Regions from separate parts of the Homo sapiens genome. Here all the other regions are linked to region 1. The links are contacts of gene promoters, found by promoter capture Hi-C in blood cells and fetal thymus (Javierre and others, 2016). All regions are on one chromosome and are shown on one strand. The core of a region is centred on a gene start or on the middle of the fragment in contact, and the rest is flanking DNA. Distances in the headings are between cores, read along the strand shown. Region 1 holds the start of GAPT (GRB2 binding adaptor protein, transmembrane). Region 2 has its middle 160 kb from the start of LNCBRM. Region 3 has its middle 140 kb from the start of LINC02225. Region 4 has its middle 120 kb from the start of LINC02225. Region 5 has its middle 70 kb from the start of LINC02225.

The links. The method cuts DNA at HindIII sites, captures the fragments that hold promoters and counts their contacts. A CHiCAGO score of 5 or more calls a contact.
Region 2: a contact is called between a fragment that was not itself captured here and the fragment with the promoter of GAPT in region 1, in 1 of 17 cell types (activated CD4 T cells). The highest score is 5.3, in activated CD4 T cells.
Region 3: a contact is called between a fragment that was not itself captured here and the fragment with the promoter of GAPT in region 1, in 1 of 17 cell types (naive CD4 T cells). The highest score is 5.3, in naive CD4 T cells.
Region 4: a contact is called between a fragment that was not itself captured here and the fragment with the promoter of GAPT in region 1, in 2 of 17 cell types (total CD4 T cells and M2 macrophages). The highest score is 7.0, in total CD4 T cells.
Region 5: a fragment that was not itself captured here is called in contact with the fragment with the promoter of GAPT in region 1 in 1 of 17 cell types (total CD4 T cells); the score reaches 5.4 in total CD4 T cells.

The regions. Positions count from the first base shown.
Region 1 is chr5:58,488,971-58,493,937 of GRCh38, forward strand. GAPT (GRB2 binding adaptor protein, transmembrane) reads left to right here and starts at 2,465. Exons shown (of 3, transcript NM_001304431.2): 1 at 2,465-2,571; 2 at 4,741-4,868. The HindIII fragment of the contact is 6,945 bases long and covers 201-4,967 here.
Region 2 is chr5:57,729,296-57,734,262 of GRCh38, forward strand. No RefSeq gene overlaps it. Among named protein-coding and RNA genes, the nearest start is that of LNCBRM, 160 kb to the left of the region's middle. The HindIII fragment of the contact is 941 bases long and covers 2,298-3,238 here.
Region 3 is chr5:57,753,770-57,758,736 of GRCh38, forward strand. No RefSeq gene overlaps it. Among named protein-coding and RNA genes, the nearest start is that of LINC02225, 140 kb to the right of the region's middle. The HindIII fragment of the contact is 4,533 bases long and covers 1-4,502 here.
Region 4 is chr5:57,772,940-57,777,906 of GRCh38, forward strand. No RefSeq gene overlaps it. Among named protein-coding and RNA genes, the nearest start is that of LINC02225, 120 kb to the right of the region's middle. The HindIII fragment of the contact is 2,884 bases long and covers 1,582-4,465 here.
Region 5 is chr5:57,826,410-57,831,376 of GRCh38, forward strand. No RefSeq gene overlaps it. Among named protein-coding and RNA genes, the nearest start is that of LINC02225, 70 kb to the right of the region's middle. The HindIII fragment of the contact is 1,846 bases long and covers 2,022-3,867 here.

The DNA.
Region 1 (4,967 bases), core at 1,215-3,714:
CTATTAAAACTCTAGTTACTTTTTGGTTAATCCCATAAACCGATTAGTGTTAATAAATTTGTTAGCTACTAAATGCATTACCTTTCCGAGGTAACATAATGCTTTATGCTAAAATGTAAATTCCCATGATACCCTTAACAAGTAGCATGGGGTTTGGCGGCTCCTTCCAAAATAGCCAGAAAGATGCTTTTAGTCTGGCAAGCTTTCAAATAAAATTCACATACACAAACATTTGTTCATTTTTACCGTCACTAATGTTACTCAGTTCAAGTATCTGAAAAAGGGCATGGGTTAAAAGAAATGGATACTAACTGACACACAAGAAATTGCTGGGAACTTAAATCACAATTAAGTAAAGTGGTTGCTATCACCAATTAATAGGAGAGGAAGATTTACTTAGATGAAAGATCCAGTCCATATTACACTACAGAACAATAAACTACTTCCTAAGCCCTTTACTACCCAAACCGTATAACTGTAGAAGAAAAAGCAGGAAAAGAAAACCTAGACATAATTGCTGTGATTAAAAAGGAACTGAAAGGAGACAATAAATATGTATTTTGCGAGGCCAAAGATTGGGAAGTAGGAAAATATAGAATTCAAGACATAAAACATAATCCCTACAAATGACAATGATCCAATAATTCTATTTTGAATATATACAGCATTTCTTTTATAAACTTGAAGAATAATTATATCCATTACATCAAAAAAATTCTATTTGAGGAAAGTGCCAGTCATTTTCCCTCCATTTTATTTTCCGTTAGAAAAACTAAAGTAATAAGGGGTTAAGCAACTTTTTTAACTTCAAAGGGCAAAAGCTGAATGAGCACCAGTTGTCCTGCCTTCTAGAGAAAATCATAATTTTATACAAACATTGTATAAATTGCCTTTCTTACAGATGTATGCCTAGGCAGGTGAGTGTGTATATTATTTGGAGGGGTGGCTAATACTGAAGTTAAATATAGTGGTGAGAATGTGGAGCACATCAAGTTCATAGCTTCACAACTTCATAACCTCCTTCACTGTAAGATTTTTGTCCAGGACACCCCTATTCTGCCTTAACACCTTATTCTATGAGGCTTAGCTCAGGTCTTGCCTTCCCTGACCACCCTCTGAGCTGGATGCCTCTTTCCTTTACCTCCACTGTCCCTGTCCATAATCCTGTCTTTCTTAGGCATTATCACTTTGATCTGAAATGTTCTGTGGGCGCAGCAGCCTCTCTACTTGGCTTTAAGTGCTGCAGGGAGCTTATTCACTCTTGCATCCTCATCTCTTAGCACAATGCCTGGCATAATGTCAGTGCTCAGCAAGTGTTAATAATACGTCCTGTCCTTCCAATGTCCAGTAGTTATTTCAGTAACTAAATCCTCTTTTTTAAAACCACCTTATGCAAAGTTAATCCTCTGTGGTTCAAAAAGTTCCAAGACAACTTAAAAGACAAATTTTCCATTACTTTGTCATCTCATCTGTCGAATTCATCTGTAATTTGTCTAATTCAGCATCTCCCACTGTGTGTGTTCCCATGAGTTGGACTCCAAGAGATGCTCTTGGTAAGCGTATCTATGTGGGAAACATGTTACTCAATCTAGCAAGGCAGCCAGTGCAGTGGTTTAGCACACAGGTGCTGGGGGCAAACTGCAGGCTCTGTCGGGCAAGTGATCATTCTGTGTGCTTCTGTTTCCTCTTCTGTAAAATAGGACTAATAACAGTTTTTCTCCCTCACAGGGTTGTTGCCAAGATTTGCTGAGTATTACACAAAAGGTTTGGAGTACTTAGTGCTAGGAACATACTGACTACTATTATTAAGCAAAGTTAAACAATTTCTTTTTCTTATTTGGTTTTATTTTGTTTGCTGGCTGTAAGACTGCTGAGAGCCTTTAGCATGCTGATGTACCCATGAATCTCCAGGGAAGCAGTATTCCCCACATTTACTTGATGGAAGAGCTGCTAGCATATCTCAGGGGTAATGGGCCTCAAAACATACCTTAGGAAATTCCTATTTATAAATTTAAAAGAACGTTAACATTTTCCAAACCCAAATTGGGACACTGATTTGACCTGTATGGCTATAACTTGGGAGCATTGGTACATAATATTAATATTTGAAGAGAGGACTGGTCTAGCAACACAAGTAAATAATAATAATAATAATAAAAGCCCAAGACCTATGTGTTACTACAATTAAAATATTTCTTTTTTTAAAAAATCAAAGTACAAGTGAAGTGACTTTTATTGATATTAAAGTGGGAACTGCAAATATGGCCCAAATAAAAAACCATGTAGGCTTTACGTATTATTTTCTGACACAGTTAAAAAACTATTACTTGACAAAGATGAAGGGCCAGACTTCCTTATTCAAAACCTCACGCCATTTATCTTAATTCTGCTGCATCTGATACTGACTTCCTCTAGAGCCAGGAAACTTTGCAAGTATTAAATAGCGTGAACGAAGGAGGGAAAGAAGGAAGTAACCCACCAAAGTGAAAAAGAGGAACAAGTTCTAACCCAATGCAGGTTTAAAACATAACCAAAAGAACAAAAGAGAGAGCTTGACACACCAATCTTGAGGTAAGTAAGAACCTGATTTAAGGTATTTGGATGATTAAACACTATAAGAAACAAGTTTGTCTTTAATTAATCAATGATTTTTATCTTACTACAGTTTTTAGAAAAAAATGCCTTACGTAGCTGTAAGGGGGAAACCCAATTTACAAACTGAGAGTGATGTTAATGTTTCTTTACAATATGATTATGCTTTGCTGTTACCTTGTTTCCAAACAGCAGGGCATTCTCTTACTTGAAAATTCCTGAAGTTTCTCAACAATTTGCGATTTTAAGAAAAATGTCAAATTGTTAGGTAACCTGTTGGAACTGCTTTCCAAAATGAAAACAGAGTCTTCTTTCAAACTGGTCAAAGTGAACATTATTTAAGTGTTAAACTATATTTGAATGGTTATTGTTTAAAATATGTTTTTCATTATAGTAGGTCTTTGTTCATGTCTCACAGGTTTTTTCCTCTAATGTTATTTCGAAGAAAATGATGCATTTCTTTTTCTGTAAAAAGTCTTCTTGTCTTTATCTTGGTAAATATCTCTTAGACAAACAATTTTAATATTTTGGATGTACCAGAATTTCTACTCTACATAGAATAACATAGATGGTAAAAATGCCTTTTCTTCTTAAAAATTAAGAGAGTAATTTATTGCCTTATCCTCAGCTACAGAAGTGACAATAGTTAGCCTTCCTCAACCCTCACCGTGACTTCTGTTGCAGGCCTAGTATCTTTCAAAAAGTTGATTAATTTCAATCAATACTTAAAGTGTATTTTGTAAATTTATTTCAAATATTCTGGCAAATAACTTCTTAAATCATTAACCATGTATACCATAAAATATCTTGCAGATAATTGGTGCTCATCTGTTTCAGACAGGAAATGAGGTCCTAATGATTAAAGTCATTTGGCTAAACTTTTGTCCTTGAACACAAGCACGGCTGGCCTTATAAAGGAGGGACCCTGCAGATTGTAAATCTTATGTGGCGGACCATACAGTTCTCAACCTCAATATTACTCCCAAAAATTCCAAGGAGATTAAAATGTTTCTGCATCTGGGGTGCTTGTCCCTGTATTTTTATCAAAAAATTGTATAAATTAGCTGCACATCTTATTTAATTTTCTTTTATGAAATGTCAAATTAAATATTTGCATATTAATATATTCTAACCTTGGACAAATTTATGAACGTTCATTACCATTAAACTTTTCATGAAAACTCACTGAAAGCAGAGCACCACTTTGTGAATTTCTATTTTTCTTCTCATTGTTACTATTATTATCCCATAAGGAGATTACTTCATTCATTAACAAATGTCTAATAGATTAGTCATTCTGTGTCTAATGCTGGTGTTGGTAATACAAAGGTAAATAATATATGATTTCCAACCTTCGAGAACCTCAGAGCTAATCAAGCTATACAAATTTTCTGACTGATGCACTTAGTAGCATGTTACAGATATTTGGATAAATAATATTTTGGGGAAATTTTTACCTGAATTCTCATTCAGTCACATTTTGGTTGTAAGGAAGTTACTTAACTTCTTTAAGCCTCTCTTCTTATCTATAAAATGGTGATATGAATAGTACCCACTACATATAGCAGCTATAGGATTAAATGAGATAATCCCTGTAACAGTTTTTAAAAGCTGAAACTCTTAACTAAACATTATTGATGATAATAACATTCCATAGATGATAATAATCATTTCACAGGCACTGTTGGATCTATGTCTATGTCTAGACTGAAAATATACAGTAATAATGTTTTGTTGATAAAATCACAATGGAACATGCAGCCCAGTTGAACACTTCCCCTTCTTGTCTCCTTGCCATTTTAAAGCATCAACAGAAAACAATGTAAAATCATCTTGCATGGAAGTTATTTTCTGAAAGCTATGAGAAAACCTGTGATACTAAGGATTTTGAAAATACATTGGTTTACTTTAAAGATCTCATTTCATGTTTTAAGTATAAACTACACCCTTGAGTTTTAAACTATCATCTTAAGCAATTAGATGCTGACATTTGCAGTCATTTTTAAATGCATTATTTCATTCAATAAATATTGATTGGATGCATTTTCTGTGCTAGGTGTTGTGCCATTCTCTGGGAACATACAGATGAAATGACCTGAACCCTGCCCACCATTTAACCAAGTAAGAATACAATTCTCTCTCATTTAGGTTATCACGCTATAATAGAGAATGGACTCATTAATATGGGATTACAGAGGAAGGAATGGTTAAGAAAAAGACATGGCCTCTGACTGCTCCAAAAAAGGATAAGCAGGGCTTCACAGAAGAGGTGACAGGTAATAAAGATGATTGCACGTGTCTGTATATGTCCCTTTTTTTCTATTGTGCTCAGAACATTATCTTTCACTCAAAAATTGTTATCCTAATTGTCAAAA
Region 2 (4,967 bases), core at 1,518-4,017, 760 kb before region 1:
ATTGGAATGCTTGTGCACTGTTGGTGGGAGTATGAAATGGTGATGGTGCTATGGAAAACAGTATGGAGATCCCTCAAAAAATTAAAAATAGAAGTAGCATATGATCCAGCAGTCCCACTTCTCACTATCCAAAAGAATTGAAAACAAGATCTTAAAAATATATCTGCTCTCCCATGTTCATTGCAGCATTACTAACAATAGCTAAGATGTGGAAACAAAACAACCTAAATGTTCACTGACAGATCAATGAATAAATAAAATGTGGTATATACATACAATGGAATATTCTTCAGACTTAAAAACGAAGAAAATCCTGTCACATATTACAACACGGACGTTATGCTACGTGAAATAAGCCAGTAACAGAAGAACAATACTGTATGATTCCATTTCCATGAGATATCTAAAATAGTCAAATTCATAGAATCAGAAAGCGGAATAGTGGTTTCCAGAGCTGGGGTAAAGGGACATGGGCAGTTGCTATTTAACAGGTATAGATTTTTAAACATGCAAAATGAAGAAGTTCTAGAGATCTACTGCGCAGCGACGTGCATCTAGTTAACAATACTGCACTGTACACCTAAAAGGTATTAAGAGGGTAGGTCTCATATTATATGTTTTTACCACAATCATAAAAAATTCTAGTGTTTAAAGTTTTTTTAATTTTAAAATTGCAATTAAGAAATTATTGATCAATTTACCAAAGTATGTTCTATAGATATTGAGTAAAAAGGGAAAGCAGTGTTTATTGTTAAATAAGTTTGGAAAACATAAGCTTAAATAAAATTAAACAGATTCATTACAGTAGAATTTCTCAGTGATTTTTATATGCTAATGTCTTGGGAATTCCAAGAAAGATGGTATACTATGCAACATTTCCTATGCGTATCAAATCACAGAAGCTTTTTTGAAACATCTTGAAGGCCTGGTGTTTTGTAGAATGGATTTTAGAAAGGTTCTTGGAATGATGTCCAGAAAATAAAGGGACTAGTGGCCTTTTCTGGAGAGATTGGGTTCCTTATCCAGTCCCAGGCACCCATTCATTCAGAAAATACTGAAGAACATGGCTCTGTACTTGAAAACTGGCTAGGGGTGCACAGATAGAAGCAAAAGCCCCTGTCCCCAACAAAGTCACAGTCTAGTGTCAAAAGAGCCAAGAAAACAACTGAAGTAAACTTAATAATTGATATAATGGTGATAAAAAGCAAATCTTAGGATTTGCTGTCTGATAATTAATTTTTAAAAAATCAACTCATAATGACTTAGTGTGTGATTATACTAAGTCATCTTACAGAAATGTGTATGAATCAAGCAGTTGATTGATTAGTCCCAGAAACACAGAAAAAAGTTTATCACGTGGGCAAAATGAGGCAGTGCCCACCCAAACACCAGGGCATAGAAATCTAGCTTCAAGTAGCTGGCCCCATTGGTGATGATATGCCTAATGAAGATAAAGACATAGGAGTTTGGGACAAATAATCTCTGTCAGGATGTTTTCTAATGTCTGATGGATGTGCATTAGTCTATTTTATCCCGGTGCCAATGAACATTTCTTTGACCAACACAACTCACCTTATTTTCAAACCATGCTCACAAAACATCATTCTGATGATGATCTGGCATGTCCTATGGTGTGCCTGTAGGAAAAGATTGTGCTGCCTAAAAAATTAGATTATTCTTATTTCTGTGTAAACTATTCATCATTGTCAGTAGGTAAATTTGTGTTAAGGCTACCAACCATGCTGGCTTGCCTGGGACTGAGGGTTTTCTCCAGACACTGGACTTTCAGGGCTAAAATCAAGACTGTCCTGGACAAAACTGGCTGAGTTGATACTCTAATTGGTGTTCATGTTTAAAGATTGATCTCAAGAGCATCTCAAGACCATGTCTGAGAGATGAACTCACCTTGTTGTGATGACCAATCCAGTTTCTGAACTGGTAATACTGAGGGCGGACCCTAGCCTAAGACCAATTCACCAAAGTAATGAAGGTCACACAGCAACAAGCCTTTTTGAGAGTTACCAGCTTTGGTAGAGGCAAAATAAACAGGGGGAACTTCATGCTTCCTGATTCAGGAATTGGAAACTTCAAGAAGGAGGTTGTTTTGATCTGATGGGACTGGAGGTATTAATACAGGGGTTTTTTCAAGCAGACATGCAAGGAGACAGCAATTCATTCATTAATTATCAATTCATTTATTTATTTAACAAATACAGTTAATTCAGTTTCTCAAGCATTTCTTTGAGCACATACTCTCAAACCACTCAATAAACAAAGATCAATTCCTGCTTTCATGAAGCTTATATTCTAGGGAAAGAGATAGAGAATAAAGAATAGGCAAGTACAGTAGAGTATATGTTAGATGATGGCAAGTGTTAAGAAGATAAGTGAGGCAGGAAATGAGGATGGAAGCACCTAGGAAGGTGCCATTTAAGCAAATACCTGAAGGATCTAATGAAACAAGCCATACCAATAAGACAAGAAGGAGAGTCTTGAAGAGGTCAAGGAGGGGTGAGGCCACTGGCATGGCTAGAGATATTGAGAGAGCCGATGAAAACAAAGGCAGAGAGGAGGGGGCTTTTTTGTGGATTAAGTAGGGGATTAAACGTAATCAAAATAAATTAGGCTTTTAATCTTGGTGAGATGGAAAGTCAATGTGGGATTAGAACAGAGAAAACAGAATGTGCAAAGGCCCTGACTAGAGAGAACCAGATAGAGGGGAATTAGAAAGAATTCCACATTTGGCTGTAGTATTGAATACTTTGGAGAATCAAGCAAGACATGGACCAGAAAGGGCCTATTGACTTTAGGAGATCCTAGGTACTTTGATCATTTCCTTGGTTTAGAGAGAAGGAAAGGCAGGTATCCATGGATGAAGCAGTTGGTGGGGCAGAGCCTCGGGTCTTGTTCAGAGGTTGCTGAGGGGCTGACGGGGCAGGCAGGAGTAAATGAAAGACTGAGAGGAGGGTTCTCTGGTCTCCATCCCGTCTCTCAACCAGTGAAGTTGTTCTTTGTGTGTATGTGTGTGTTGATGTTTCAAAAAAGATTTAATTTGAAAAAGAGTGTTCTACTGCTTGAAAAAAAAGGGGCATTAAAAACCAAAAATAGGAAGTGAGAAAATTAATACATCTAGGTGGATGAACTTTCTAAGAAAGGACTGAAAAAGGGGAGACGTAAGCAGTATGGGGATTTGAGGACAGGGTAGAAATTTTTATTTTGTTAAGATAGAGCTAGGTTAAGCTTGTTTTAGGCTGAGAAGAAAGAGCTGTTAAAGTGTAAAAGTTTGATACAAAGAACAACAGGAGGTAATGGGAAAGTGACTAAGCTCTCTTACAGCAGGTAGGAGAGCGTCGGGTCCATAGCAGACATGAATATATTTGCATTATATTTGGTTTATAAGCTATAATTCTTAAAGCTCAAGGATTTCCTTTGACTGTTTTTTTTATGTCATTTAAGCTTCAAATAAACATTTAAATAAGCACTTTTTTTTAAAGAAAGTTGATTTTCATATCTAGTTATTATCCTGCTACCTTTGCCAACATACCAGAATCTTTGATTATTTTTTCTCCTGTGGCGTCAACCTAGAGAGGAAGGATCTTGATTAAATATGCCAACTATCTTTACACTCAATTTGACCAAAGGCCAACTCTTTTTATGTTTGTAATAGGAATGTACTGAACAAATTCTGAAATTCACTTTCATAAACTTTCTTTCTCTTAGACTTTCAGAGTAGGGTAAGTTTTTAAAAAGCCGAGTCACCATGTTCGTCTTTAGGGCAGACAAAAGTCTATGCACTTTTTTTTTTCTTAGACTCCCAGGTAAGGAAATTCTATAATCTACTTTAAAATCTACTCTAGCCCTTAGCAAGATTTCCAATCAAGAGGCTCCTTTTCATCACTAAACTGCTTTGCTGCTGCAGCAGATTTAGTAGATTTCCTAAGGCTTCAGAAGCAGTGGAGAGCAGCCTCCCTTGACTTGGTGTACAGAGTCAGGCCACAGAGACTTCCACTCTTACTTCCCGGGTAGCACACACAGCACAGTCAAATAAATGCCCTCCTGGATTCCTATGCCATTAGGGTATGTGCTAAAAGAGCTCACTGGAGAAAAAGCTGAAATCAATTGTGAGTTAGGGCTTGCTTCCCAACATGTAGCCCAACAACGTAACATCAACACCATTGGGGATCTTGTCACCATCTTCTGAATAACAGGATCCCCTTTTAACAGGATCCACAAATGATTCTTATGGACATTAAAGTTGAGGAGCCACTGCTTTAGATAATTCTTTTGAAATATTATATAATCAGCTTACCGGACTTCAGAATTCCTCCTTTCCCAATGGCTGGCTCTTCAGGGTGGTGTCTTTCTCTTACTCACCTTTGTATTTCTAGTGCCTAGCACAGGGCCTGGCATATGCCCCTTTGATTTCTTTTGGTGTCACAGCTTAATCCATGTTTACTGAATAAGTTGCAGAATCAGTCTAGTGTCACAGTATAATCCTACTGCCATCAGAAGAAATTCATATAAACAATTTTTCTGAATATGGCTTTTACTATAATCATTATTTTAGGCCACATATCATGAAACCAAAAATCCTACTCTAAACTGATGACCTTTTGGTTTCATCTGGGCAGAGTCTCCCTTTTGTTTTAATTCAAAGCATACCTCTATTTCCACATTCCCATTTTTCTGGGGTTCAGTTTATCTTGTGCTATTTAATCTGTTTTTTTTTTTCAGTCTCCCACTTTCTTTTCTTCCCAAATGACTGATGCAGGTGGAGGGTGGCAATTTTTGAGTTATTTTTGTATCTTGTTTTTCCCTTTAGCTTTCATCAAGGTGACACTTTAGAGACTTAAGGTGGGTAAGTGGAAAGACAGAGAGGACTTTCTGTTTTCATCAACACCTGCAAGAGATTTTTCCCTATTCCAACAATAGCATTGATTTTACATTTTACTTGCTCTGAGCAGGAT
Region 3 (4,967 bases), core at 986-3,485, 740 kb before region 1:
GGAAACAACCCCAAATGTCCTTCCTTGGGTAAATGGATAAACAAACTGAGGGGTACCCATATGGTGAAATGCTACTCTGCAATAAAAGGGAATGAACTCTTTCAGCCTTTTCTATCTCTCTTCTCTGATTTTTCCCTAGTGCTTATTGCTTTCTACTTTATCACATAATAGATTTTTATTGTTTATTTTTTGTCTTTTGTTCTCTGCTAGGTTATAACTGTGAGAGCAGAAATGTATGTCTGCTATTTTTGTTCTTTACTGTTTCATCTCCAACACTTAGAATCTTTTTATTCTAAGCTACCTGGTGAACTGTCCTGAAGTGATAAGCAGTATTTGCCAGTAAGACAGTTCACGTCCACTAAATATATTCTTTCCTTTTAATGTGCTCTGCACCTTTAATTTTTTTAAATTTATTTTTAAATTTTATTTATTTATTTTTTGAGACGGAGTCTCACTCTTGTCTCCCAGGTTGGAGTGCAATGGCACATCTCGGCTCACTGCAACCTTCACCTCCTGGGTTCAAGCGATTCTCTTGCCTCAGCCTCCCAAATAGCTAGAACAACAGGCATGCACCACCACACCCCCAATAATTTTTGTATTTTTAGTAGAGACGGTATTTTACCACATTGGCCGGGCTAGTCTCAAACTCCTGAGTCCCAGTGATCATCTTGCCTCTCAGCCTCCCAAAGTGCTGGGATTGCATGCATGAGCCACCATGCCTGGCCTGCACCTTGAAATTTTAAAACAATTTTTTTTTCATGTCCTGGAACCAAAGCTCTTCATGCCATGTTGGGGTGGGATTTGATAAAACACTTTACATGTTTCCCATAAATAGTATTCCCAACAATTCTGAGGAAATTCTGTGGTTCTATAAACCACTGCTTGAAAAATTAGTTTTCTATCATGACAAACAGCTCATCTTTGAAAGTACAAAGTATTTGCAATTGATTTTCAGAATGAATCATATTCTTAATAATTGCACAAGATTACTCACAAATTCAAGGGAGTTAGATTTAAAAAACTGACTCAAAATCAAATGAACCCAATTTATAACTTGTGCTTACAACATGTTCTCATATGACACCCACAAATGTTTCTTTTGTGAAGACTCAACCTCAAGTTACAGAGAAGGGAAATTTCTACTTCCATGACTTTGCCAGTAACACAATCACAGTGGTAATATGCAATGTTCTTATTTCATTATATGGGGCATAGAACAGTTTGCTGACTTAATTGGCAAATAACTGTCTTTTCAAGACAATTGAGAGGTCAATATCTGAAGAATGAGTGAAATGGAAATATTCAGAAATGTCCTAAGTGAACCATAAAGAAAGTTGAGTCTCCAAGATCTCAAGATGAAAGCATTGATGATGAGAAAGCTGCCTGTGATTCCATGTGTACATTGTGAGTAGTAATTTAGCAAAGTCATTCACTGACTGGGAAATATCTACTATGCACCAAGTCTAGAGTCACAATAATGAGTTTGGCAAATGAGCTGAGGGGCTATTTGTATGAAGCTCATGAACTAATTAGGGGTAACAAAGAAATAATAAAAAAATAAAGTGTAATGGGGAAAGGCAGAGTTCTACAAGGATAGAGAGATCAAGAAATTTTGCTGGTTGGCTCTCACTGCTTTGATGGCCTGGTTTTGATACCTATGTAGAGCCTTGGCAAAATACACTAAAATTATTTTTAACATTAGTGTTGATGAGAAGATCAAACTGTTTTAATTCTCTGGACTGCTTAAGAGTCACATGCCCTTACGACAAGAGTAGGTTTCATACTGTAAGCTACAGGTAAGATTTTTTTAGGATTGAGGATTAAATGTTTTATTCCTGTAAGGTTTTCTATTCCTTTCATCTACCAATATCCAAGGAGATGCTAATGTAAAAACTCTTCAGAACTGCTTTCCATCTCTTTTCCTTCCCCTACATCCCATTAAAAATGGAGTAGGCAGGAATATAATTAATAACAGTAGGCTATTTTCTGGGAGGAAAACACCCAGCTGTAGGCACTGAGAGATGCATTCATTCATTCATTTGCATTTTTTGAGTGCTGGCATGCCCTAAGCATTATGCTAGGAGCTATAGATTTCAGACTCTGGTAGTTAGAAAAAAAATGGCTTCCCGAAATGTCCACATTCTATTCCCAGGAACTGGTGAATATGTTAGATTGTATGGCAAAGGGGAATCAGAGTTGCAGATGAATTAAGGTTGCCAATCAGCTGACACTGAAATAAGAAGATTATCCTGGATTATCCAGCTGGGCCCAATATAATCACAAGCGTGCTTTTTAGAGTAAGGAGGAAGCGGAAGAGGGAGAACAAAACAGATTGCAGCATGAAAAGAAGATTGGCCTGGAGTTGTTGGCTTTGAAGATGAAGAAATGAGACCATGAACCAAAGAATGCAGGTAGTGTCTAGAAGCTAGAAAACACGAGGTAATGAATTATTCCTTAGAACCTCTAGAAAGCAACAGTCCTGCCAATACCTCAGTTTTAGCCCAGTGAGACTGATTTCATGCTCCTAACCTCCAGACCTATAAAATAAGTTTTTGTTGATTTAAGTCACTAAGTATGATAATTTGTTACAATAGCAGGGGGGACTGAAGCACAGACCATACTGCAGTGTCTGCCCTCAAAGAATTAATGGACCATTGGAGGTGTTAAGAATTCAATGAGGGAAGGTTCTAGCCAGTGACACTGAGTGCTGACCAGGGCTGGAATTGAAAAAGGCTTGTAGAAAAGACAAAATATCCTCCATGCTGGACGAGACAAGAGCATTGAGGTCATAGCATTTTTGCTTCCATGTGGTCATTTATGCCCAAGAACAGATGAACTAACACTTTGAGGGCATTTTCTTATACAGCTGGGGAATTTGCCAGAGAAACAAGCAGCTGGGCCCACAGAAGGTTGGAGGGGTGGAGGAAGGAATGAGACCCAGGTTTAAAAGGATCAGAGATGATTATATTTTATATACCACCTATATACTGACTTCTAACACATGTATCTTCAGCTCATACACAGCCCTCTCCAAACTGCAGATCTAACTATGAACCCCAAATGTCTCCTTGGGTAGCTACTGAACAACCAACCCCAAACTCTCGATCTTCTCTTTCAGTCCTGCTCCTATCCCAATATTTTCCCTTTCAATAAATGGCACTGCTACTTTTTGAGTTCTTCAGGACAAAGACCTTGGAATCTTCCTTGGCTACTCATTTCCACTCACATTCCACATCCAACCTATCTGGAAATCTGGTTAGCTCCACCTGCAGTATATTTGCAGAATGTAATCATCTCTCACTACCTCTACTGCTATATGTCTGGTCTAAGTTATCTTTATCTGGCTCACTTAAATAGCATCAAACTGATTCCCTTGATTCCATCGTTTTCCAATCACAGTCTATTCTTTTTTTTTTGTTTTTTTTTTTGAGATGGAGTCTTATTCTGTCACCAAAGCTGGAGTGCTGTGGTGTGATCTCAGCTCACTGCAGCCTTACGGTTTCAAGCAATTCTCCTGCCTCAGCCTCCTGAGTAGTTGGGATTACAGGCGCCCGCCACCATGCCCAGCTAATTTTTTGTATGTTTAGTAGAGGCGGGGTTTCACTACGTTGATCAGGCTGGTCTCAAACCCCTGACCTTGTGATCCGCCCACCTCGGCCTCCTAAAGTGCTGGGATTACAGGCGTGAGCCACCACACCCAGCCTGCAATCTATTCTTAACATAGAATCCAGGATAGTTCTTTCAAAATTATTTCTCTGCTCAAAACTTTCTGTGATGTACAGTCTCACTCAGAGTAAAAACCAAAACCCTTCTAGGTATTTACCCAAGGGAAGTAAAACTTTTATTCACACCAAGTGTGTACAAAAGTGTTTGCAGCAGCATTAAACAAAATAGTTAAAATGTAGAAACAGTCTGAATGTTTATTAACTGAACATGAATGGATAAATAAAATGTGATGTATCCAAACACCAGACTATTATTTGGCAATATGAAGCAATGAAGTATTGATACATATTATGACATGGATGAATCTTGAAGACATTATGCTAAGTGAAAAAAGCCAGTCACAAAATATCATGTTTGATTTCATTTATATGAAATTCCCAGAATAGGCAAATCTCTAGAGACAGAAAGTAGATTAATGGCTGCGAGGGACTAGGGGAAGAGGAAGTAGAGAGCAACTACTAATGGGTGTGGGGTTTCTTTTGAAGTGATGATAATGTTCTGGAATTAGATAATAATGACGGTTGCACAGCGTTTTGAATATACTAAAAACAACTGAATTATACCTGGAGGAACGTATATATCTGGACCTAGTTGGGCTTCCATCAGAAAGGCAGAAGGATGTTGAGAAGATGAACAAAAACTTCTGCTTCATTCTTGTAGGCATTTGAGTTTGTAACTGTGTCTAAATCTTCTCTGCTTGGAGAAGTTCTGACATAGAGTTGAGCATAGGTTAAGACATAAAAAACCTTGCCAGTATATTGAACATTTCCTAATTAAGCTTTCAGGAAATAAATGGCCAAAGCATAAGGTTAGTAAATAAAATGGTGGTTCCTGTGTAGGTAGTCAAGTGAATTAAAGGATAGAGTAATTTTTTTTTAGTTTATGCATATCAGTTTAGCCAAATACTAACAAGCATGGACTGCTGGGGTTCCAAGGGAGCCCCAAGTCTCCTTGAATATTGATGCGGTTACTAGGACCCTTATTCCAAATAGCATTATGAGCCAAGCTTAAAACATAAAATAGAAACGCACATTGGACGGGTGAGTTACAGTCATCATTTACTTATTCATTCATTTTTTTACCCTTCATTCAACAAATATTTTTTGAGTCCTGTCCAGCCCTGTGGATAGAAAGAGACTGAGTGTCATTACTCTGCCATTATGGAGCTTAGAATCTGGTGGAGAAGACAGACATTAATCAAATTATTGTACAAATAAAAGTAAAACAATTGGGAAACATAA
Region 4 (4,967 bases), core at 1,774-4,273, 720 kb before region 1:
GAGGAGATGGTAAATTAGGTGGGTTTTAGCAGCATTGTTAAAGGGGATAGCTACCTATTTTCAAAGTTGGCTTCGGAATTTAGCTCCAGTGGTGCTTACTTCTTCAAAGGACTATTTTAAGAAATGTTGCATCATTTATGCTCTTGATGACACAGAAACCAACATTGAATGGAAAAACTCATTGGCAATTTTGAGTTGACTATGAATCAGAAGAGTTGAACTCTGAATCTGAAAGAGTTTAGAGACATTAACCAGTTTATTTCTCATTTTAAAGTATGCAGATAGGTGATATGATACAGATCCAGGTTTAATACATCTATATATAATAAAAATTCTAAGTAATATAGAAGCATGTGTAATAGTTACTTGGCAGCATGTTTCTTTAGAAACATACAATAATGATTACTCTTATAGCTGGCGGTACTTCAGTTTTGACAAACTGTAGTGTGTAAGAGAAAGAATCTCCTACTTGGTTAAGCCATTCCTAGTTGGGTATTTTCTTACTTGGAACTGGAATAATTTCCACTGTACACAAGAACACTCCAAATTCTTGTTCCATAAGCTGTACTTGAAAATATGTTTTTCATCCTACTGTATTATTCTTAAGACTCCGTTTAGCATGGCCTTTTGGTGGTCTGAGTGTGCGAGGCTTCCTTTAAATACCTGGATTGGCTTGAACTGATTATTAACTTACTATAAAAATCTTACACACACACTAATGTTTTTAGATAGCTACTGCTTCTTCAGCTTACATTCCAGGAATTATTTACAAATTTCAGAGTTCTTGAAGTCAGCTCTGTGATGGTTAATTTTATGTGTCAGTGTAACTGGGCTAAGGGATCCCCAAATAGTTGGTAAAACTTTAAGGTGAGTCTGTGAGAGTGTTTCTGGAGATTAGCATTTGAATCAGTAGACTCAGTAAACAAGATTGCCCTCATCAATGTGAGTGGTCATCCTCCAATCCATTGAGGGCCCAAAGAGAATGAAAGGCAGAGGAAGAGTGAATTTGCTCTCTCTCTTCTGGAGCTGGGACATCCATCTACTCCCGTCCTCAGATATCAGCATTCCTAATTTTGGGGCCTTCAGAATTGGATCCGTACTTACACTATTGCCCCCACCCTACAGTTCTTTGGCCTTTGGACACACACTGGGACTTACACCATTTACGTCCCTGGTTCTCAGACCTTCGGGCTTGGCTTTCCTTGGCCTCCAGCTAGCACGTGGGAGATTATGAGACTTCTCAGCCTCCATAATTACTTGAGCCAATCCCTCTTAACAAATCTCTTTATACTTATCTACATATAGTCATGCATTGCTTAATGATGGGGATGCACTCTGAGAAATGCATCATTAGGGCATTTTGTTATTGCGTGAACATCATAGAGTATACTTACACAAAACAAAATAGTGTAGCCTACCACATATTTAAGCTATATAGTATAGCCTGAATATTGTAGGTAATTGTGATAGAATGATAAGTATTTGTGCATCAAAACACCTGGAAACATAGAAAAGGTACTGTAAAGTATAGTATAAAATATAAAACACAGTACACCTATACAGAGCACTTACCATGAATAAAGCTTGTGGACTAAAAGTTGCCCTGGATGAGTCAGTGAATAAGTGGTGGTGAATGTGAAGGCCTAGCACACTACCATATACTTTTATATGACTGGTAGTGCAGTAGGGTTGTTTACACCAACATCACCATAAAGATATGAGTAATGCATTGAGCTATGACATTATGACAGCTATGATGTCACTAGACAATAGGAAATTTCTCAGCTCCATTATAATCTATGGGGCCACTGTTGTATATATGGTCCGACATTGACCAAAATGTGGTTATGACTATACAGCCTATGGGTTCTATTTCTCTGGAGAACTCTGACTAGTACAAGCTCCCAACTGGATTATATGATTTAAAGTGAATCACTTCTGTCAGAATGAGTGCTAGATATTCCTACTAGACATGTACTTCTCAGTTTGCTAAATAACATGCTTCTAGGAGGATATAGTAACTCTTCTTGCAAAAGCATTTCTTACAGAGCTTTGCAGGACTTTTGTTTTTTTTATTTTATGATTATTACTCTTTACTATTTGGTATTGACTTCTCTTTCTCTTAAAGATTTAAATCTAATGGTGTCTGTGCACCATTACATTCAGGGAAGATAAGAGACATATATTAAATCCCTGAAATATGCCATTCTTTTGTGTAGGCTTCTGTCATAACTGACTTACTCCATCATCAAAATAACATCTGAGGTAGATAATGGCCTGAGGTTATGCCCTGTGTTATATCTGAGGACACTAAGGCTGAGAGAGATTTAAAAAGTTGTCTAAACTGATAAGCCATTTTGATTAAGATTAGCCACACTCAAAAGTGTAAACAACTTCCAAATCATCATGTTTTCTCCTGAGAACAAGGGACAATTCACAACAAATACTTGAATGTGTCCTACAGGCCACTCATTGTACTGGCACTGTCCCTGCCTTTAAAGTGCTAATAGTCTCACGAGAACTAGAATGATGCATGGTACTTTCAAGCCACATTGGCTAAGTAAAACCCAATGGTATGACCAGAACAACTGGTCTTAAAAAAAGGCTCTGGCAGCCTTTTAGCATAGAGGTTGGCTAACAGCACTGAGCACAGACCTTGAAGTCAAGATCTTCTGGCTTCACATCTCCAACAATTAACTTATTGCTTGACTTCATATAGTCTGTTTCCTCATCAGCAAAATGTAATAATAATGGAAATAATTATGTACTTTACAAACAGTTGTGTGAAGTAAGTGAGATACTACTTACTAAGTGCTCATGTGGTTTCTGGCACTTAATAGGCCTCCAGCAAAGTTTTGGAGGAGCTAAGAATGAGACTCCAGGAATGGAATATCTCAAAGATAGGACTTGTGTGTGAGGGCCCTGGACTGGAAAGACACTAGGAGAGGGTTTTGCATGGGGATTCCTCTTCCGTACCCTAAACATAGTGCTAAAATTTTCAGAAAGGACTTGCTTGGGAACACTATGAATAAAACAGAATGTCCCCCCGCCCCCCACCCTTTTTTTTTTTAAACTGCTGACAACTGCTAAAATGCTTACAGACTTAGCCTGGATTTTCAAAGAGGATTAGATATCACTAACAAGATTGTCCAGGTGCCTAAAAATTTATGCGATGTTTTCTCTGATGAGGGAGTGCTTTGTTGTGAGCTTGCAGAACAGCTGTGATCTCTGTTTATAGGGCTTACCATTATTTGAGTGTCTGTGCTCTGCCTCATGGGCTATAAAGTAAGCCAAGTCATCCTGTTTGCTCATGGTAAAATATTACAAATTAAGTCAATAAATGCACTTCTCCCAACTGAAAATCTGCACCCCTCTGGACATCACAGAGCTATCTGATACCTTGTCTTTCTGTACTCTGGTCTCTAGGTTCCTTGCAATCTGCAACTTGATTGAAAAATTCCCAGTTCTATATTCTTCTGTATGAAGAAGTAGTACTGCATCTGTAAGCCAGATCCTTGTTTCCTCCTGCTTACTTTATCTTTTCCCATATCGTTCTAGGAAGACATGTTTGCCTTCTCAGTCTGCGGAGAAAATTAGATAAGTATTATATGTTGCTTTTAATATCTATCCAGACAATTACATCAAAAACTTTTAAGTGCTTCTCTTCTGTTCCCTATTTGACTGCCTGCAGCATTTCTCAACTAAAAGCTCTCTTTCCAAACTTTGCTTTAATTGTTAATAGGCATCTGCTGAGAAGGCTTAACTTTGCTTTATGGCATGGTGTGGGAGATTTCGATGTGCCTCAGCTTGTTTGTGGCAGAACTTGGGGAATGGTGAGAAATTAGATAACAGTCTGTTGAGCCCTAAACATACATCAGTAAGAGATCACTGCAGAAATAATAGCTGACATTTGAAAAGCATTTCATAATGTTATACTAACCAACCTTCCTGGGTTAAGAACTAGATTGAGCAGCACACAATCCCCATGAAAATGTTCTCAATTTACTACTAGCTGAGAGCCCTGCTGCAGTTCTGTTATTAACTGCTCCACTATGGCAAAAGGATAGAGGAGAATGTTGAACAGGGCTTTTCTAATTAGTGTTTGTGGTGCTAGTCTGCTGGCTGACCTTGAAATTGGAATAAGGCAGGTCAGACATTAAAACTCAGAGAAAGAAATCAGAATTCTTTAACTCTCTTCTCTCTATACTATCTTTAACTCCACTTCTCGACTCGTCTACTCTACTTCTCTCATACTATCATAGACCTACAACTGGGCAACCCTTCATACTCTATGTTTATTTGTCTTATACTTTTACAAGGCTTAATAAAACTCCAGCTTACTAGCCAACCAACATGAGAGTTTTTCTGATTCTCCATAATGACTTCTAAATGTCAAATGAGTAAGATTCAGTTTATCCAGTTCCTTAGGCAAGATAACAAGCCCCCGATTTCTAATAATGTAGGAAGCTTGTTACTTTTTAACAACTGGCCTTGAAGACCTGGGTGGTTCCCAAAACCCCTTAATTTGACTGCAAAGATGAGTCACTGAAAACTCTGTCATCAACCATACTATGGGGACAGTGCTAACAGAGATCCTTGAAATTCCCAGATAATCCCCAAACTACCATTTGGCTACCAGCTTTAGCCTCTTAACTTAAATCTTCACTAGAACTGCTAACAACATTACACTGATAAAAGCTTCAAAAGAGCTAGCATATTTCTGAGAAGTGTTAACTTGGGGATGTATCAAGAATTGGGCCATAGAAAGAAGTTATAGAAGCAAAAATTGAATATTCATTCTTGTATAACAAATGCATTGTAGAGTTTTGAGTACTTATTGCATCATTTAATTGTCAGTAGAATAGTTTGATTTAAGCTATATAACAGTTTTATCATTTATTTGTAAGCCTTAACTAGGTAGAAATATCTTTTTATAGAATTTAAACAATATATTAGGAGCAGAAACT
Region 5 (4,967 bases), core at 1,695-4,194, 660 kb before region 1:
GGTCTCGAACCCCTGACCTCAGGTGATCTACCATCCTTGGCCTCCCAAAGTGCTGGAATTACAGGCGTGAGCCACCACACCCAGCTGCTTCTTGCCATTTTTCTCCACCCAGCTAAGAGGTTAGTGTTCATGAATGATCGCTTCAGCTCCTTATCTCCACTTGCAGCTTTTCATATTACCTAAGACAGCAAATTTACAGCTTGATCTAATCTCTTTGTTTGTTTGTTTGTTTTGTTTTGTTTTGTTTTGAGACAGGATCTTGCTCTGTCACCCATGCTCACTGAAACCTTTGCCTCCTGGCTCAAGCAATCCTCCCACCTCAGCCTCCCAAGTAGCTAGGACTACAAGCATGCACTACCATGCCTGGCTAACTTTTTTTTTTTTTGTATTTTTAGTAGAGATGGGGTTTCACCATGTTGCTCAGGCTGGTCTCGAACTCCTGGGCTCCAGTGATACTCCCACCTTGCCCTCCCAAAATGCTGGGATTACAGGCATGAGCCACTGCACCTGCCTTTACTACTCTTAAACCTCTTTAGAACTATCTCTGCATCCTTGACGTTAGCCTGTAGCCTAGTCATAGCCTTTTTCATTCTCTAACTCAATAATGTTCTATTTTTATTCAAAAATAGAAATAGGTAGAACAACATTTAAGATTAAAAAAGCATTTTTATTTGGAGGTTAAAAAAAAACTCCTTGCAAATTTGTCTCTTCCCTACCCCTTTTACTTTGATAGAGCTTGAATCATTTCTTCTTCATTTGATTTAATAAAAACTTTTAAATGCTTTTACATTAAAACACCTTGTTTAAAAACAAAGAAAAAATAGAGTTGAAGAAACTTATTTTGCTTGTCTATAAATATTTGTAATACTACTGGAATTTATTGAAATGTATATAAATTAGATGTGCTAGATTAGTTACAAGAAAGTACAAAACAATGAGATTTATTTTAAAACATAGATATTATTTAGAGAACCACATAACAAAAGCAAATCCTAGAGTATCCCTCAAGTGAAGCCATTTGAAAGAAACCTTAACTCATCATATATAATATGTAATACTTGTACAGTGATAAAATGATCAGGCTAGTTCCATGGGAAGAGTAAATACATAAGAAAGTTCACTTAATATTTATTACCTCATTAAATTACAAAGCATACAATAACATGCTATTGCACACAGTATGACTATGTCAAGTGTCTATTAAACATAATTAAAGCCAGCAGCTCTGGGCATAATGAGATTTAGACTACATGAGAAATATTAAAAATCTACTTGCCTAAGTCCTTTTAGGCAAAATTGATTATATCCTTTGCTCACCTAATGTATTAGTTCATTCTCACACTACTATAAGGGCATACCTGAGACTGAGTAATTTATAAAGAAAAGGGATTTAATTGACTTACAGTTCTGCATGGCTGGGGAGGCCTCAGGAAACTTACAATCATAGCAGAAGGCATCTCTTCACAGGGCAGCAGGAGAGAGAATGAGTGCTGAGTAAAGGGGGAAGCCCCTTATAAAACCATCAGATCTCATGAGAACTCACTCACTATCAGGAGAACAGCATGGGGAGACTGCCCCCATAATCACCTCCCATGAGTTCCCTCCCATGACACGTGGGGATTATGGGAACTACAAATCAAGATGAGATTTGGGTGGGGGCACAGCCAAACCATATCTCCTAAATGTTAACAAGTTCAACTTTTAACACTAATTTATCAAAGCAGTTAAATTCTTAGAAGACACTATTTTGGTTTATTTCAATTCTATGCCACACCAAAAGCAATCAAAAATAGGTTCCTAATGAACTTAAGGACCTATGGAGGCTAACCCCAAATTCAAACTAATGAAATCTCAAAGCAGATGTGTTTTCAATAAATGTTCCTTTATCTCCACACAGACTTTGGCAAAATCCACTTGTTCATCGTCATTTAAAAATATGGCTAAAAGATTCCACTGATTCAGATACAGAGATGCATTACATCTTCCAAGGAGTTAACAAAGGAGGATGGAAACAATGAATAAGCTTTGTTTTGAAATCCAGTATCAAAAACTTGTAAGTTCCTAGGCCTCCTTATATTTTAAGCACCCATGTAATCCTAAAAACATCTCAAAAGTACTCTTGGTATTCTGACACTGTTTTTGTCATTTCATAGCTTATAAGAGTAAATTTAAAAACCTAACTATTTAGAGACATTTTTATACTTTGCCATTTAAAAGACATGTAAGTAGAATTTATCCTATAAAATTAAAGAATATTTTAAAAGGTTAATAAACATGTTTTAACTAAATTTTGGGGAGTAACTTTTCCTCTAAGTGTTTGGAATTGATTGAGCTTGTACATTTACTAATCAAACACAAGTCAAACACGATCTTTTTGGGACAAGATCTAGATCTAAGAAACTCAAAGGAAAATGAATTTAGGGTTTTACATATTTAATAAGCAAACACCCATCTCTGTTTTGCTGGGTAATTGTCTTCCTAATACTCTTTTTAGGAAACATACACACACAGGCACACACACACAAACACACACTAAAGAGTAGGGGTAGAAACAACTAATTACTTACTAAGACATTTCTTATTGAATACTGATTTTCTTCCTGGCCTGTACCAGGCTTTGAGGATATAAAAATTATGTTTTTTCCTCACAGCACTCACACTGTTAAATAATTAATCCACTGATTTCTAGACAAGTCTTTATGAAGCACCTACTAAAGGTAAGGCACTCTGCTCAGAGGTAAGGATGTATTAATGAACCAAACAGGCCTGGTTCCTCCCTTCATGGAGTATACAGTCCAGTGGGGAGCATAGACACTCATCAGATTATCAAGCAAGTGCATGTAGAATCATCACATGGAATCCAAACGCGCGATAAGAAGTATATGGTTCTATATAAGCACAAAAGTGTGGGATAGGATTTGGTCAAGAAAGTGAGAAAGGTGCTAATTATGTTAAAATCATAAACAGTGGGTAGATATGAGTAGGAGCATCTAGGAAAAAAGGAGAAAACAGCACATTCCCAGCAAAATAACCAGTACTGTGGATTGACTCGTGTCCTCCCAAAATATATATTCAAGTCCTAACCCCTAGTACCATGTGATCATACTTGGAAATAAGATCATTGCAGATGTAATTAGTTAAGATGAAGTCATACTGGAGTAGGATGAGCCCTTATTCCAATATGACTAGTGTCCTTATATGTAGAGGAGAAGACACAGATGGGGAAGGTTGCCTTATGAAGACTGAGCCAGAGACTGGAATTATGCTACCACAAGCCAAGGAACACCTGGGCTGCCACAGATCAGAAGAGACAAGGAAAGATCCTTTCCCAAAGACCCAGAGTATAGCCCTGCCATCACCTTGACTTTGGATTTCTAGCCTTTAATTCTGTGAGACGACACATTTGTATCATGTTAAGCCACCTAGTCTGTGGTTCTTTGTTACAACAGCCCTAGGAAACTAATACAACCAGCATCAGTAAAAGCGCCGTGGCAATAAAAAACATTTCAAATAGAAAGAACCAGAAGAAATCCAGGATAGCTGGACACTGTGTGGTAGCAGTAGGGTTGCTGGATAAAATACAAGATGGCTAGTTATATTTTAATTTCAGAAAACAACAAATACCCTTAGCATGTGAGTCCCATATTACATCTAGAAATCTGACAAAAATATTTGCTTATCTGAAATTTAAATTTAACTGGGCATTCTGTATTTTTATATGCAAAATCTTGCCACCCCAGAAAGAGGATACATGGTGAAAGTTGATGGCAAATAGGTATAGAGAAATGTCTATGCCTCTTTAGATTGTTAGATTGAAGTGGATTAAATTTGTGGGAAGTGAGAGAATGGTGACAGCAGGTATAGGCAAGCTTGCAGAAATTTAGCTGTGAAAGGTCTAAGGAGCTGAGGATAGGAATAGGAGAATGAAGAGTTGAATGAGGCTGTTTTTGTTTTTTGAGTGGAAGAGGCACATGCATGGTTAAGAGCCAGATGACAGAATCTACCTGAGAATTTGATTATATAAAAGGCAATAAAGAAGGGATGTTAAATATTTATAGCTCATAGAAAAGTGATAAATGATGGGATACATACAAATGATGGTTTTAGATAGAAGAAGAGGCATGTCTTCCACTGCAACAAGAAGGCAGGAGGGCAGCAATGGTTCACTGTGGATTGTTTTGAGTATTTAATATTAGGGAAATATTTAATATTTGGGATTCTCATCAGATAATCACATACTCTCTGTTTCCCATATTCTGGGAAATTCTTAACTATGATTTAATGAATAATCCTGGATGAGGTTACATGACACGGTTTGGCTGTATCCCCAACCAATTCTCATCTTGAATTCCCACATGTTGTGGAGGGACCTGGTGGGAGTTAATTGAATCATGGCAGCAGATCTTTCCTGTGCTGTTCTCATGATAGCTGTTCTCATGAGATCTGATAGTATTGTAAGGGGGAGTTTCTCTGTACAAGCTCTCTCGCTCTCTCACTTTTTATTTTTTGCCTGCTGCCATCCATGTAAGATGTGACTTGTTCCTCCTTGCCTTCTGCCTTGACTGTGAGGCCTCCCCAGCCATGTGGAACTGTAAGTTCAATAAAACCTTTTATTTGTAAATTTCCCAGTTTCAAGTATGTCTTTATCAGCAGCGGGAAAACGGACTAATACAGTACAGCCATCCATAAAACACATTTAAGGTATACTTATAGAAGTTTTGTTATGGAATTCATACAAGTGTAAGTTTGAGTTAAAAATATTTTAATGAAATCCTGGAGACAGATTTATATTCTAAAGGCTGAGAACCCTTTAAACTAACAGGCAAGTTCATATGCTAAATACCAGAAGGAACAAAACTGTTTCAGAGGTTTGAAGGGAGAGGAGGTGTAACTAGTTATTGTGAATTGGATTGAGCAACCCAAAAGGATGTCAAGCAGTGTGAGTGGCCCACTTGAGTTTTAATCTC